Linked DNA regions of Homo sapiens: all the other regions are linked to region 2. Evidence: promoter capture Hi-C in 16 types of primary human blood cells and fetal thymus (Javierre and others, 2016). All regions are on one chromosome and are shown on one strand. The core of a region is centred on a gene start or on the middle of the fragment in contact, and the rest is flanking DNA. Distances in the headings are between cores, read along the strand shown.

What was found. Contacts are between HindIII fragments. The CHiCAGO score rates a contact against its expected background, and 5 or more counts as called.
Region 1: a contact is called between a fragment that was not itself captured here and the fragment with the promoter of GP2 in region 2, in 3 of 17 cell types (M2 macrophages, endothelial precursors and M1 macrophages). The highest score is 6.5, in M2 macrophages.
Region 3: a contact is called between a fragment that was not itself captured here and the fragment with the promoter of GP2 in region 2, in 2 of 17 cell types (M2 macrophages and endothelial precursors). The highest score is 6.2, in M2 macrophages.

What each region holds. Positions count from the first base shown.
Region 1 is chr16:20,008,420-20,012,812 of GRCh38, reverse strand. No RefSeq gene overlaps it. Among named protein-coding and RNA genes, the nearest start is that of GPR139, 63 kb to the left of the region's middle. The HindIII fragment of the contact is 3,974 bases long and covers 1-3,284 here.
Region 2 is chr16:20,324,846-20,328,795 of GRCh38, reverse strand. GP2 (glycoprotein 2) reads left to right here and starts at 1,283. Exons shown (of 11, transcript NM_001502.4): 1 at 1,283-1,329; 2 at 2,329-2,458. The coding sequence starts at 2,365. The HindIII fragment of the contact is 1,228 bases long and covers 931-2,158 here.
Region 3 is chr16:20,026,855-20,031,256 of GRCh38, reverse strand. It overlaps GPR139 (G protein-coupled receptor 139), which reads left to right. Exons shown (of 2, transcript NM_001002911.4): 2 at 1-3,018. Among named protein-coding and RNA genes, the nearest start is that of GPR139, 45 kb to the left of the region's middle. The HindIII fragment of the contact is 5,491 bases long and covers 1-4,402 here.

The DNA of each region.
Region 1 (4,393 bases), core at 48-2,547, 320 kb after region 2:
TCTGTTTAAGAGCATGTGGCACCTCCCCATTCTCTCTCTTCCTCCTGCTCCCTCCAGCCATGTAAGACATGCCTGCTTCCACTTCATCTTCTGCTGTGATTGTAAGTTTCCTGAGGCCTCCCCAGAAGCAGAAGCCACTGTGCTTCCTATACTGTGAACCGATTAAACCTCTTTTATTTATAAATTACCCAGTCTCAGGTATTTCTTCACAGCAGTGCAAGGATGAACTAATACAATTATACATCAATTTTATTATCAGAAAACAACATTTACACTTCATAAAATAAAACAAAAGGGTTTTCTTATAGGTGATTTATGCATAAGTATGAAAAGGAGGGTATTGAATCCTGGAATAAGTTCACATTACTCAGGAGAATACAAAATATTTTCTTCTGCAAACCTTAAGCCCAGTACTTAGTAGTTGTACTCATTAAATAGTTTGGGGATGAATAGATAAATAAATCAATGGATGGATGTATAGATGGATGGATGGATATTGAGGTCACAAAGGCAGTTTGTTGTTGTTGTTGTTTTAATTAGTGACCTAAATAATCCAAGATTGAAAGTCACTCTGAAGTAGCTGGTCCTCCAAAAATGTCAGGATTATTGGCTACCATGGATTTTGGAGTTTGGTCCTTACGCACAAACACCTGATGAGGGATCCAGATGATGTGGACAGACAAGGCTTACAAGAGCTCTGCTTAGCTTAAGACAAAACTCTCCCATACATGGGTTCCAAATAACCCCTAAGTGATGATCCCAGAACTAGCCTTCTGTGATTTATTCCTGTAGACATGAAGGAAATGAAGAAATGAATCAAGGAGACAGAAGGAGACCTTATGATATGAGAGATCATGCCTGGGGAAGCAACATTGTTTTTGGAAGATTAACTTTTCTTTTTGGTTTACACATATGCTGCTAGAGTTATAAAAGGAACTAACTGATGCCAATAGTATCCCCAAGTCCAGAAAAGGCTAAACTGTGTAACAAATATACCCCTGCCTCACCTTGCTATAAACACAGAAAGAGCTACCTTGAAAATGCTCCATTCATCCCAGTGTCTTACATTTTCCATGGCTTGCCTCCATGTATTCACGCAGGTCCCCTGTTCAATATTTCTGGGAGTCTCTGCGTGCATTTCATGCATCCTCAGCTGTCCAGCTATCATCTCCACGTGGAGTCCTCCCCATTCCTCCCCTCTTGTCCCGGGTCTTCCTTGTTGACATCTCTTGATTATGAAGAACTTCAGAGGATCTCATTGCTGCCATTCCTGACAAAAGCCACCATGAAAAGGCCACTGAGGGGCTAAAGCAGTGCCACATTCTAACCACAGGTAGAAACAGGTCCCTCTTCCAGGTCGGGTCACCTTGACACATGTTTGAAAAAAAGGGATAAATTTTATGTCTATGAATAGGCAATTCCTAGAAGAGGAAACCTGGATGGTGAATAAAAATAAAAACTATGTTCTAGTTCACTAAAAATCAGGAATGTGACTGAACATATCAGCAATTTTTACACCTATCAGATTTATAATCATTAAAAGAAACAGACAACCTCAAGTCTTGGGCAGATATGAAAAAGACAAGGGTGTTTGGTGGGAGTGAAAATGGTTATACCCACTATGAAGAGAAACTGGGAAATGTATTTTAAAATTGCCGATGCATTACCTCACAACCAAACGATTCTATTTCCAGGTGTGTCCTTTAGGAAAAAAATTCTCACACACATGCTCAAAGAGATGGGTATGACAATGTTTCTTGCATGATTGATGCATCAGCAAAAAGAAATTGGAAGCAATCTATATGTCCATCAATAGGAGAATGAATAAATAAATGGAATATGTCCAGGCATGGTGGCTCATGCCGGTAATCCTAGCACTTTGGGAGGCCAGGGCGGTGGATCACTTGAGGTCAGGAGTGCAAGACCAGCCTAGCCAATGTGGTGAAATGCCATCTCTACTAAAAGTACAAAAAAAAAAAAAAAAAAAAGTTGAAGGGTGTGGTGGCACGTGCCTGTAGTCCCAGCTATTCGGGAGGCTGAGGCAGGAGAATCACTTGAACCAGGAGGCAGAGGCTGCAGTAAGCCAACATCATACCACTCCTGCCTGGGTGACAGAGGAAGACTCTGTCTCAAAAAGAGAGAGAGATAATACTAGGACACAAAGCAAATGAATAGACTAAAGCCACATGTGTCACCATGGATGAACCTCAAAAAGGGAATATTGAAAGTTGAAGCCCATGTACAGTATGATTCCATTTATATAGTTTCCATACATGCATATATACATTTATAGAAATAGTATAAAAACATGAATAAAAATGTGCAATTCCAAATTTTTTATAGTGGTTACTTCCTGGACAAGAGGGAGAAATAAGAAGGGGACAAACACAAGGGACTGCAACTCTATCTGATGGGTTTTATTACTTTAGAAAATTCTGAAACACACAAGGCAAAGTGTCAAGAAATTTTACAGATGAGTATCCTTCCTGTTATCTCCTATGGGTTTCTGTGCCTTAAAATATGTTATAATGATATGGTAGATACACCATAAAGTAACACCAAAGTAAACCATGTTCTTACATAATTCCCTCCCCTCGAGTGCAGGTAGAACCTGTAACTTGATTCAAACCAATAGAATACGGCAAAGGCGATGGATGCCACTCTTGTGATTACTTTATATTATATAATTTTCTGCCTTAACTGACTAGAGTGAGAGACTCTTACAGGCTTGGAGAAATAAACTGCCTTGTTGTGAGAAGGCCAGATGGCAGAAAACCATGAGTGACCCTCTAAGACCTAATAGCCACCCCCAGCTGACACTCAACAAGAAGCCTGACCCTCAGTCATATAGCTACAAGGAAATGAATTCTGGCAGCAACCTCACTGAGTTTGGGATGGAATTTTTCCCCAGTCAAGACTCCAGATGAGAACACAGCCCAAGTATGGCCAACCCTTTAATTGCAGCCTTCACAGATGCTAGCAGAAGACCCAGGTAAGCTGTGCCTGCACTCCTGATCCACAGAAACTGAGATCATAAATGTGTGTTGTTTTAAGTCACTGTGTGGTAATTTGTTACACAATAGTAGAAAACTAATACAAATAAAATATTTATGAAAAGAAACAGGAATTCAGAGGAAAAACATAAAATTTTGATGATGTAGTGTCCAAGTTTCAAGAAGGAGGAAGCAATTCCTGGAACAAATGCTCCCAAGGCTAAGACCAAGGTTGACAGAAATATCTCCTTCAGCTTTAGCAGTTTTCAAGCAGTGGTCATGTCAGAAGCTTGGTGCTAGAAGGCTGAGAAGTAAGTAGGAGAGAGAAACTGGGGACGCTAGCCAAGAAGTTTATCAAGAAGGAAGGTTCAAGGAAAAAGCCACTCGCTGCATGGAGGTATAAGGCTGGGGGAGTTTCACTGATTTTTTATAAACCAGGAGAAACTTAAAAATGTTTGCTTGGGTGTCTCAAATGTTCTTATTCATAACAGAATGGTTTAGTTCAATGGTTCTCAACCCAGTCTGCACATTATAATCACCTGAGGAACTTTCAAATAGTCCCCATACACAGCATATCCATGCAATTGAAACTATTCAGCAATAAAAAGAAAGAAATACCAATACAAATGTAGTACCTTTATAACAACAGGGATGGAACTAGAGATCATTATGTTAGGTGAAATAAGCCAGGCAAAGAAAGACAAACATCATATGTTCTCACTTATTTGTGGGATCTAAAAATCAAAACAACTGAACTCATGGACATCAAGAGTAGAAGGATGGTTACCAGAGGCTGGGAAGGGTAGTTGGGGGGCCTGACAGGGATATGGTATAGTTAAGGGGTGCAAAAAATAGTTAGAAAGAATGAATAAGACCTACTACTTGATAGCCCAACAAAGTGACTATAGTCAATAATAACTTAAGTCTACATTTTAAAATAAAATAAAATAAAAGAGTGTATTGGATTGATTTTAACTCATAGGATAAATGCTTGAGGAGATGGATACCCCATTCTCCATGATTTGATTATTTCACATTGCATGCCTGTATCAAAACATCTCATGTACTCCATAAATGTATACACCTACTATGTACCCACAAAAATTAAAACTTCAAAAATTTTTAAAAATAAATAAAACTATCATGCTCTAGAAAAAAAAAAGAAACAAAAATACCAATACATGCTACCACATGGATAAGCCCCAAAAATATTACGCTCAGCGAAAGAAACCAGGTGCAAAAGGCCACTACTATGTTGTTCCATTTATATGAAATGTTTTTTAAAAGCAATTCTATAGAAACAGAAAGTAGATTAATGGTTATCTGGGATTGAAGGTAGGAATAGGAATTAATGGAAAACTTTTTTTTCACCATTGCCCCATGAAACAAACTTTTGTCAA
Region 2 (3,950 bases), core at 34-2,533:
ATTTATATGTTTACAGGGGAAGGAGCAAGGTCAGGTGTTGTGGCCTAAATTGTTTTTGAAGTAGGGTACCAGATATCTGCTGAGAAAGGTGGTGTGAGTGGGTGATAATAGCTGCAGAGACCATTTAAGAGGAATGGGAAGGTTAAGAGTGGCCACTGGGGAGACTGGGATGGGCACCTGGCCAGACTGAATGGATCAGTAGGTGATTTAGTGGGCCCAGTTGTCACAAGTTCCACATTTTAGAGACTATTTATTCTCCAGTTGCTCTGGGAGTAGAGAAGGTGGCTTGTAGCACCTTTTCTTTTTCCAGGTTGAGGTTTTGTAGAAGGTGTTACCAATGCCAAGACCCTCCTGCTCCCTTGACTCCAGTTGCCTTGGCTCCTTAAGGAGTCCCAGAGTGACAGAGAAGAAGCAGTGGCCATTTTTTCTGCAAAAGCTTTGGCTCTTTTATGAAGTCCATGATTTCTACCATGTCATGAAAGCCAGGTCCAAGCCTGGAGTTAATAAGTCCAAGATCCTCTACAGCCTCTTCTCAGTCTCATGCCTTCCAATCTCTAGGGCAGCCTACATATCAAAAGGGATTTACAGGGGCTACTCTGGTGCTTCTTTTGTCCAAGAACCTTTGTCTGTCCTTTGCCATTCCAAAATCCATCATCACCAAATTAGCCATTCCAAAACTGCTCAGCATTAGAAATCCGGAGTTGGGTAGATTCTATGGACCAATAAATGGAATTTTTCGAAACATCCACACTCCCTTCTTTCCTTTCCTATGTGTCCTCTTAGTCTAACTGGCCCCAAGCTCAGTGGCCTTCAGACAGAAGCAGAAATGTTCCAAGATGATTAGCTAGGAACACAAGGTACAACTGAAAATCCATTGTGCAAACAAGTGCCTGTTTGATTTTCTCTTCACTTCCCTTTGGGTATTAAGCTTCCTTTCAATTCGTGTTTGGTTTCTGGTAATAAATATGGCACCAGTTTCATTGATTAATTATGAAGATTAAATGTGAGAAGTCAAGAACGCAAAGCAGTGCCCAGCATGTTCAGCATTCAGCACACAGCACTATTGTTTGTAGGAAGCATTCGCACAATGCTGAGACAGCTGGAAGGGTTGACATTGTGAGGGGAGGGCCCTTCTTTCACCATCCTTTGCGTAAATGGCTTATCTCACCTCCACTCAACAAGCCCAGTGTATGGCCTAGAACTCCCATCATACCTGTGCACCAATTGAGGAGAGACACATGGGTGGGAAATTGCAATAAAAAGACGGCCCACAGCAGGCTGCATTCCCATGGCTGGCCAGAGGAGGAACGCTTTGTGTTCTCATCGGAGGTAAGTCCTGCTTTAAGCCCCAGGAGGCTTCCTCCTAATCCTGGGAAATCTTGATCCACTGGACATGCTAGGATTCTTTGTTTCTGGAAATTTTTAGAACCCAGCAAGTAGTTTGGACCCTGGCCATTGTCAAGTGCTCCAGGTACCACTCTATGTCCAACTCAGTCATGCTTCCAGTCATCTGCGATGCTCCAGGCCTACGGACGCCACCCTCTTCCTTGTCCCAGATATTCCCACCAGGGAACTAGGTCTCTATTGGGATCTCATCTCTAAGAATCACCAATCCTGGGTGCTTCCCTATCCCTGCTGTCTCATAGCATACTCATGGTATCCCTGCCCGAAACCGATCTCTATTTTCCACTGAAGTCTTCCAGAGGTTGTAGGAAGTTATCCAAAGATTTGGCCATTTAGGGAAAGTATTTCCCAGAAAAGTAAATGCCATCCAAATGCTGGCAGGCTTTTTTGCAGCTCTTTCTTTCTGCCTCGCCACCGCCCCCAACCCCCATTGATTTATTTATTCATCCTTAATCCTCTACTGAGTACTCCTTGTGTGCCAGATTCTGTACTAGGAGCAAGGAACATGAGGCTCGGTTTGGCATGGTTCCACAGTCACAGAAATCTACATCCATAGAGGACATTTCAGGGGGCTCTTAGCAGCACCCAATGCATAAAACTAAGAAAGGGCAGCCATTACTTTTGTGTGCAGGTATTCACAGGTACCATATCCCTTTTTCTCTATCCAATCTCCAAAGAGCCTCTACTTCCACCTGAGCAGGGACCATCCTGAGACCTTTCTAGGACATTCTGCAGTACTAGCCAGCTCTAAGCTTGCCTTTGGTTTGCTTACTGTCAATTTTATCACCCATTATCTCGCTCTATCTGTCCATAAGTCACACCTACTTTGAAACAATGCAGCTCTTTATGAAGGAAGTCAACGGATCTGTTTCTAAGAACATAGACCTATGCCCTAATCTTATCTTGGTCTTTTCTTTCCCATAGCTGCATGGGAAGTCTGCATACAGCAAAGTGACCTGCATGCCTCACCTTATGGAAAGGATGGTGGGCTCTGGCCTCCTGTGGCTGGCCTTGGTCTCCTGCATTCTGACCCAGGCATCTGCAGTGCAGCGAGGTAAGTATTCTGCTCACCTGGCATCTCAGATGTCAAGGAAGACCTAGCAAGTGAGGATAGAAGTGCAGAGAAGGTGGCTCAGGTAAGGAAGAGGAATTGGCAGTTCTAAAGCAAAAACTCAGAGCTAGAAGTCAAGGGAAACATAATGAGAAACAATGGAAATCAAGTCACAATCTCTCAAAGAGCCTAATCAGAAATTCCTCTGAAAGGGCAGTGGGAGCCAGTTAACATAATTTCCCATGCCCATATCTTTGGGAGATTAGAGACCCCAGATTAAAGAAGATCAAGAAATACATAACTCAGTCACCTTGTGCTGGCAAGTGCCTTCTCCTTTTCCTGAAAGGGCTAGATTAAGTGATCTCTTTATGAAGTGGGCAATTCAGATACTTGCAGAAAGGAGTCTCAGGCTTAGAATTAGAGTGCAAATTTCAGCCCCTGGAGGAGGGTGGGAGAGGGTACTGAGCTCATTGGAGGCCTCCAGTGGAAAAATACAATCTAAGAATAACAAATGCAGTGATTCCTTGTCTTAAAATAAGTACATGCATGAGCAAAGTTTGAAAATCTTTTTTTCTGAAAGGCCCTTCTAATGTGTATTATAAGCATGTGCAAAGCTTGAAAATCTCTTTTTTTTAGAAAGCCCCTTTAATGTGTATTGTAAGCACATGATCCTGTGTGTGCACTTAGCTCCTTCTTCAGGCATCTACAGCATTCAACAAAATAGAACTAGAGAAGACAATTAGCTTGACCCTGGTGCTGTGCTTGGCATTTTACACATATTATCACATTTAATCCTCTAACAATCGTTTAAGGCTTTCTTTCCCCAAATGAGGTGTATATATTCCAAGATGGTTCTGGGGGTGCCTGGCAAACTCTTAACAAGTTTTTAATGGCTGTATGTTTATTTTTTATGCACATCTAAAAAATATAACTAGCACATGATATCTATGTTATCACAGATATTATTCTTTAAGATGAAACTAATTCTTAAAAGATAATCATTGAAAGAAACATTTTAAGTCAATAATAGGACAGGCAAACACATGTATGACAAAGGTCATGACCCAAAGCGTAGGAACGGATAAAGTTTGAGAACCACTGGTTCACAGGTGTGGTTTTGCCAATGAGTCTCAGGGGACTTAAGTCACCTGCCAAGGTCACCCAGCCAGCAGGTGTAGAATTGGATTTAAACTCAGCCTGACCAGCCTGTGGTCTTCCTCCTTCACTTCTCTGCCTCTTCATACATCACAGTTTCTAAAACTGTTTTTAAAAATGGTAGATCAACAATCAGAAATGGTCTTGTTAGATCAGTGGTTCTCAACTGGGGGCGATGCCCCCCAAGAAGACATTTGGCAATGCCTGGAGACCACTTTGGGGCATGCTGGTGGGATCTGGTAGGTAGAGGTCAAGGATACTCCTAAACATTCTATAATGCACAGGATGGCTCCTCCAGTGAAGAATGACCTAGCCAAAATGTCAATAGTGCCAAGGTTGG
Region 3 (4,402 bases), core at 1,201-3,700, 300 kb after region 2:
TTTTTTTCAAGGTGCCCTTTGTCCTAGAGAGGGTTGTGGTCTTGAATTGGCTCTGGCACTCCTAGCTTCAGAATGACACTGTGGGAATAGAAGAGTATTGGATCCCATCCAAACTGTGGCCAGAGCTTCTTCAGGAAATCTCCAAACCCGCATAGCTGTGACCTCAAACCTGGGGTCTAAAAGGCAGTTTTCTATTTATCATTATGTATAGATTTTCTCTATCTCCTCCAAAACAAAGACCCTGCCTGGTGCGCAGGGGGAAAGGAGGAATTCTCGAGCCCAGAAAAACAAAAAAATAAGCCCACACTTGCCATTGTTTCAACCCATCCCTGTGTCAGCTGCATACGATCCCGTTACTCAAAATTGCTTCTTGTTATGGTATCACTCCAGCTTCCTAGAGAAGCCTTTTTACGTGTCAAGTTGCCAACCCTGCCTCCTTGCTTGCTGAGGCCCTCACCAAATTGTTTTATTTGAAGTGACTTCCGAACTGAATTTAATATTCAAGGGTCAGGAACTGCAGCTCTGCGGGTATGAGAGGAGGTGTTCTCAGCTCTGTCTCACAGCCCAGCTGGCGCTGCCATTTCGCCACAAACGCAGACACAAAAGGTGCCCATGCTGACGCCTCGTCTGCCCTTTGACGCACATGGCTCAAAAGGGGGTGCCAGTTCTTGGTAAAGCTATTTAACCCAGATCCTTTGTAAAATGATAAAATATAAGTGTGTTTATTTATTCTACCCTTGCCTGTCCAAGGCAAGAACATTTCTAGGATGTAATGAATAGGGGCATCCCTGGAAATTGCTACTTATGTGTGCAGCACACACACACACATGATTATATTCGTCTTATTTAGTGTTTCTTTTTTCTTCTTTTTTTTTTAACTTCTCCCTCAGATTCCCAGTATTCGAATTCATCCCTGTTTTGGAATAAATTTGCCAAACTGACTTTGAAATTGCATGACATTTTTGGTGACCAAAAAACGGCAGACAGTCCACCTGGAATATTTAGTTCCTCAGGCTGGATTTTTACTGCATTTTGTCCCTAAGTTGGAAGACATGTCTATCTTTTTTAAGGGAATTTGCAATAAATGAATGGGATAAGAAAAGGCCCCATGGCAACACAAACCCTAAACTTCAGCCAATGCTCTCAATACTAACTCAATACAAACTTAGGTCATATTAGTCCTGATGATCCTAATTCTTACCCCTTTTAAAGGATCGCAATAGAATCTCATCAGAGCCAAGGATTAGATTCTAAAGTCAGTGCAAAAGATAAAACCTTACAGAGCCAAAGTTACCTTTGCAAAAGATCCTCAAAAAAGAGCCATGTTGGAGATTATATTCCATTGCTTTCAAAACCTAACACAGCTAAGTTTTTCTCTAGCATTGGAACAAGTTGCTGTTTCTCTGGTTGATGACAAGACAGAATTGGCTCTCATTTAGGGACCATATTGTGTGATTCTAATGTATCTGAGAACATTAGGACCACCCTGGTGCATCAAGATGCTTCCACTCAAAGAAGTTCATGGAAGTCGTCTGACTGAGGGACAGATCTCCCATCTCCCACGCTCCCCAGGGCGTATGCTCATTGAGTGGAATGGTAAGCAGATTCCCTCACCTCCCTTAAATTGCATTTCTCTCTGTCTCTTTTTTGCCAAGCACGTGTAATTGAACATGTGTTCATTAAATGTGTGTGTGATGCAACGCCACTACACCCCCTTATGAATGGACATTGACCAAAGGCTACCTATACTGAATATATATATATATATATATTTATTTATTTATTTTTTAAACATGTAGCTCTGAAAAATGCTAGTTTGAGCTACACATGAATGAGTCAAAGTGCAATATCTACAAAGGTTAAGCAATTCCTTTTTGAGAATGTATATAAGATGGAAAATATGTATGTGACTCTCCATGCTCTCTGCTCCATATTTTTAATTGTGTGTAACAATTAATTGTTGATGTTTAAAAACTGGGTGTGCATTGGGAACATTTTCCTCAGACACTTTAATTTATTACTTCTCGATGATAGAGGCTCTACCACGTGGTATTGTGATCTCTTTTCCTCCGAATATATTTTATATTTTGCTACATGATATTTAAAAGAGGTCCAATTCTTGAAGGCACTGTAGTGAATTGCTGTCTTCTGCTTAAAATGCAAATGAATGCCCATTGGGTTAGGTTGATTCATATCTCTTAAAATTTATTTCAAACTATCTAAGGACTTTTATTATTATTTATAGTAATAATTATGGACATCATGAAATGGGTTTTTTTTAACTTTAAAACTTTAAAAACTTGTAAGCCTTTTCTTTCAGGCCAGTTTTGACAATAAAGCCTTGAACTTTGAAGCCTGTCATGTAAATGGCTGCTGCTGGTGGCACTAAAGCAATTGCCTTATCGTGGGTTTTTGTGGTGCCTCTTTCAAAGACAGTTAACTAGCTTCTCTCTTGCTATATGATTTGTGTCCTTGGTTGGACATTGCAATGATGATACGCACCACCATGCTGTGTCTTTTTATTGAACAACTTGACGGCTGAAATGTCTCATGGGGAAGGAAATGAGGGGAATGACAGACAAACCATAAAAGACAGACCGGAGTGGGCACGAACTTGTGTGTTGCAAACACCCTGCTATTGGAAAAGATCACTTTGCACATTTGGTACCTCCTGGTTCAACATGGGGAGCCTACCCGAAGTGAATAAAAGACTCTAATGTTGGCTATTCCAGTTCAGAGAATGGAATAGAAAGTTACCATAGAAAAAAAGCAAATGTTCATATTTTCTTAATTAGATTATATATTGTGTTTGGACTTGTTTGTATTATAATAAATTCTAATATGGTGCACACTTGGTGTTTGGTATTTGCATCTATGTTCAAGCAATTGCAGTATGCTGATTTTTATTACTATTATTTTTAATTGATAAATCATAATTGTATACATTTATGGGATACAATGTGATGTTTTGATATATGTATACAATGTGGAATAATTAAATCAAGCTAAATTAACACATCTGTCACTTCACTTATCATTTTTTTTGTGGTGAGAAATTTGAAATTTATTATCTGTTATTTTGAAACATACATTGTTACCGACTCCACTCACCCTGCTATGCAATAGATCTCAAAATTTATTTCTTCCATCTAACAAACTTTGTGCCCTTTGACAAACATCTCCCATTCCCTGCTTCTCACCTACTTCCAGCCTCTGGTAACCATCATTTTACTCTCTACTTCTATGAGTTTGACTCTTTTGGATTCCACATATAAGTGAAATCATATAGTATTTGTCTTTCTGTGCCTGGCTCATTTCACTAAGCATGATATCTTCCAAATTGCAGAATGCTGGTTTAAACATTTAACATTTAAGTGGACATCTTTCTTATACATTGTGCTGGGTGCTAGAATAAAACCAGAGTTCCATCTGTCTCCTGGTTAGCAGATATAGTTCAGAATTTAAGACCACTGAACTGTGCTCCCTACAATCCTCATTTAGGTAGTTTACTGGGTATAAATCTGAATTCTCTGCTGATCACATCCTCTGTACATCTTTGAGACAGTGAAGGATGATTTTTTAATAATCATAACTGGAAATCCAGCATCATGTCTAAGAGCTTGGGCTTTGATGTCAGACAGTCACGAGTTCATGTCCCAGCTCCCCCATTTACTAGATGAATGGCCTTGAGCAAGTCCTTGGAGATTTCCTAAGGACTTTCCTCATCTAGAAAACGGTGCATAATTTAAATTTTTTCCAGTTGTCTTCAAGGTATGTAGAAACTCTTATAGTCAGGAACCCAAGATTTGGAGTCAGTTATTACAGGCTATAACTTTCCTGGCTATGTGAACTTGAGCAATGTTCTCAATCTCTCTCTCTCTGAGTCTCAATTTTCTCTCCATAAAATGGAGCTAATTATAATTCCAGTAGGTAACTTATAAAGTGATTATTAGTAGCAGAGTTTTTTAAAAAGCCTCCAATTGTACATCATTTTATAGGTGAGGATGCTAGGCCCAAAGAGGTCAATGATCTGGGCCTGAATGGAACCCAGGTCACTCAACACTCCATCCTTTTCACTTCACCTCATTATCTTCTTTGCAAAATTCTAAGTCATTCCCCCAAAACATCACATTGGTTTTATGCCCATTTTAGAGTTGGGTGCATTGCATAATTTTGCAACTCTTCAAACCCAGATCATTCAGGCATGATATATATTATAACAGCCTCATAATTAAAACTCTCAGCTTGACCTTTCCTTGTGAGTAGAACTTTTTTTAATTGACTCTATGTGGAATCCTAACCATAGCTCTCAAACTTGCTATGCATTTTCCCACACAAACCACCATCAATTCTGACAGCCACCCACAAACTATTGTCACAATCCATCTTTGCATCAACTTGG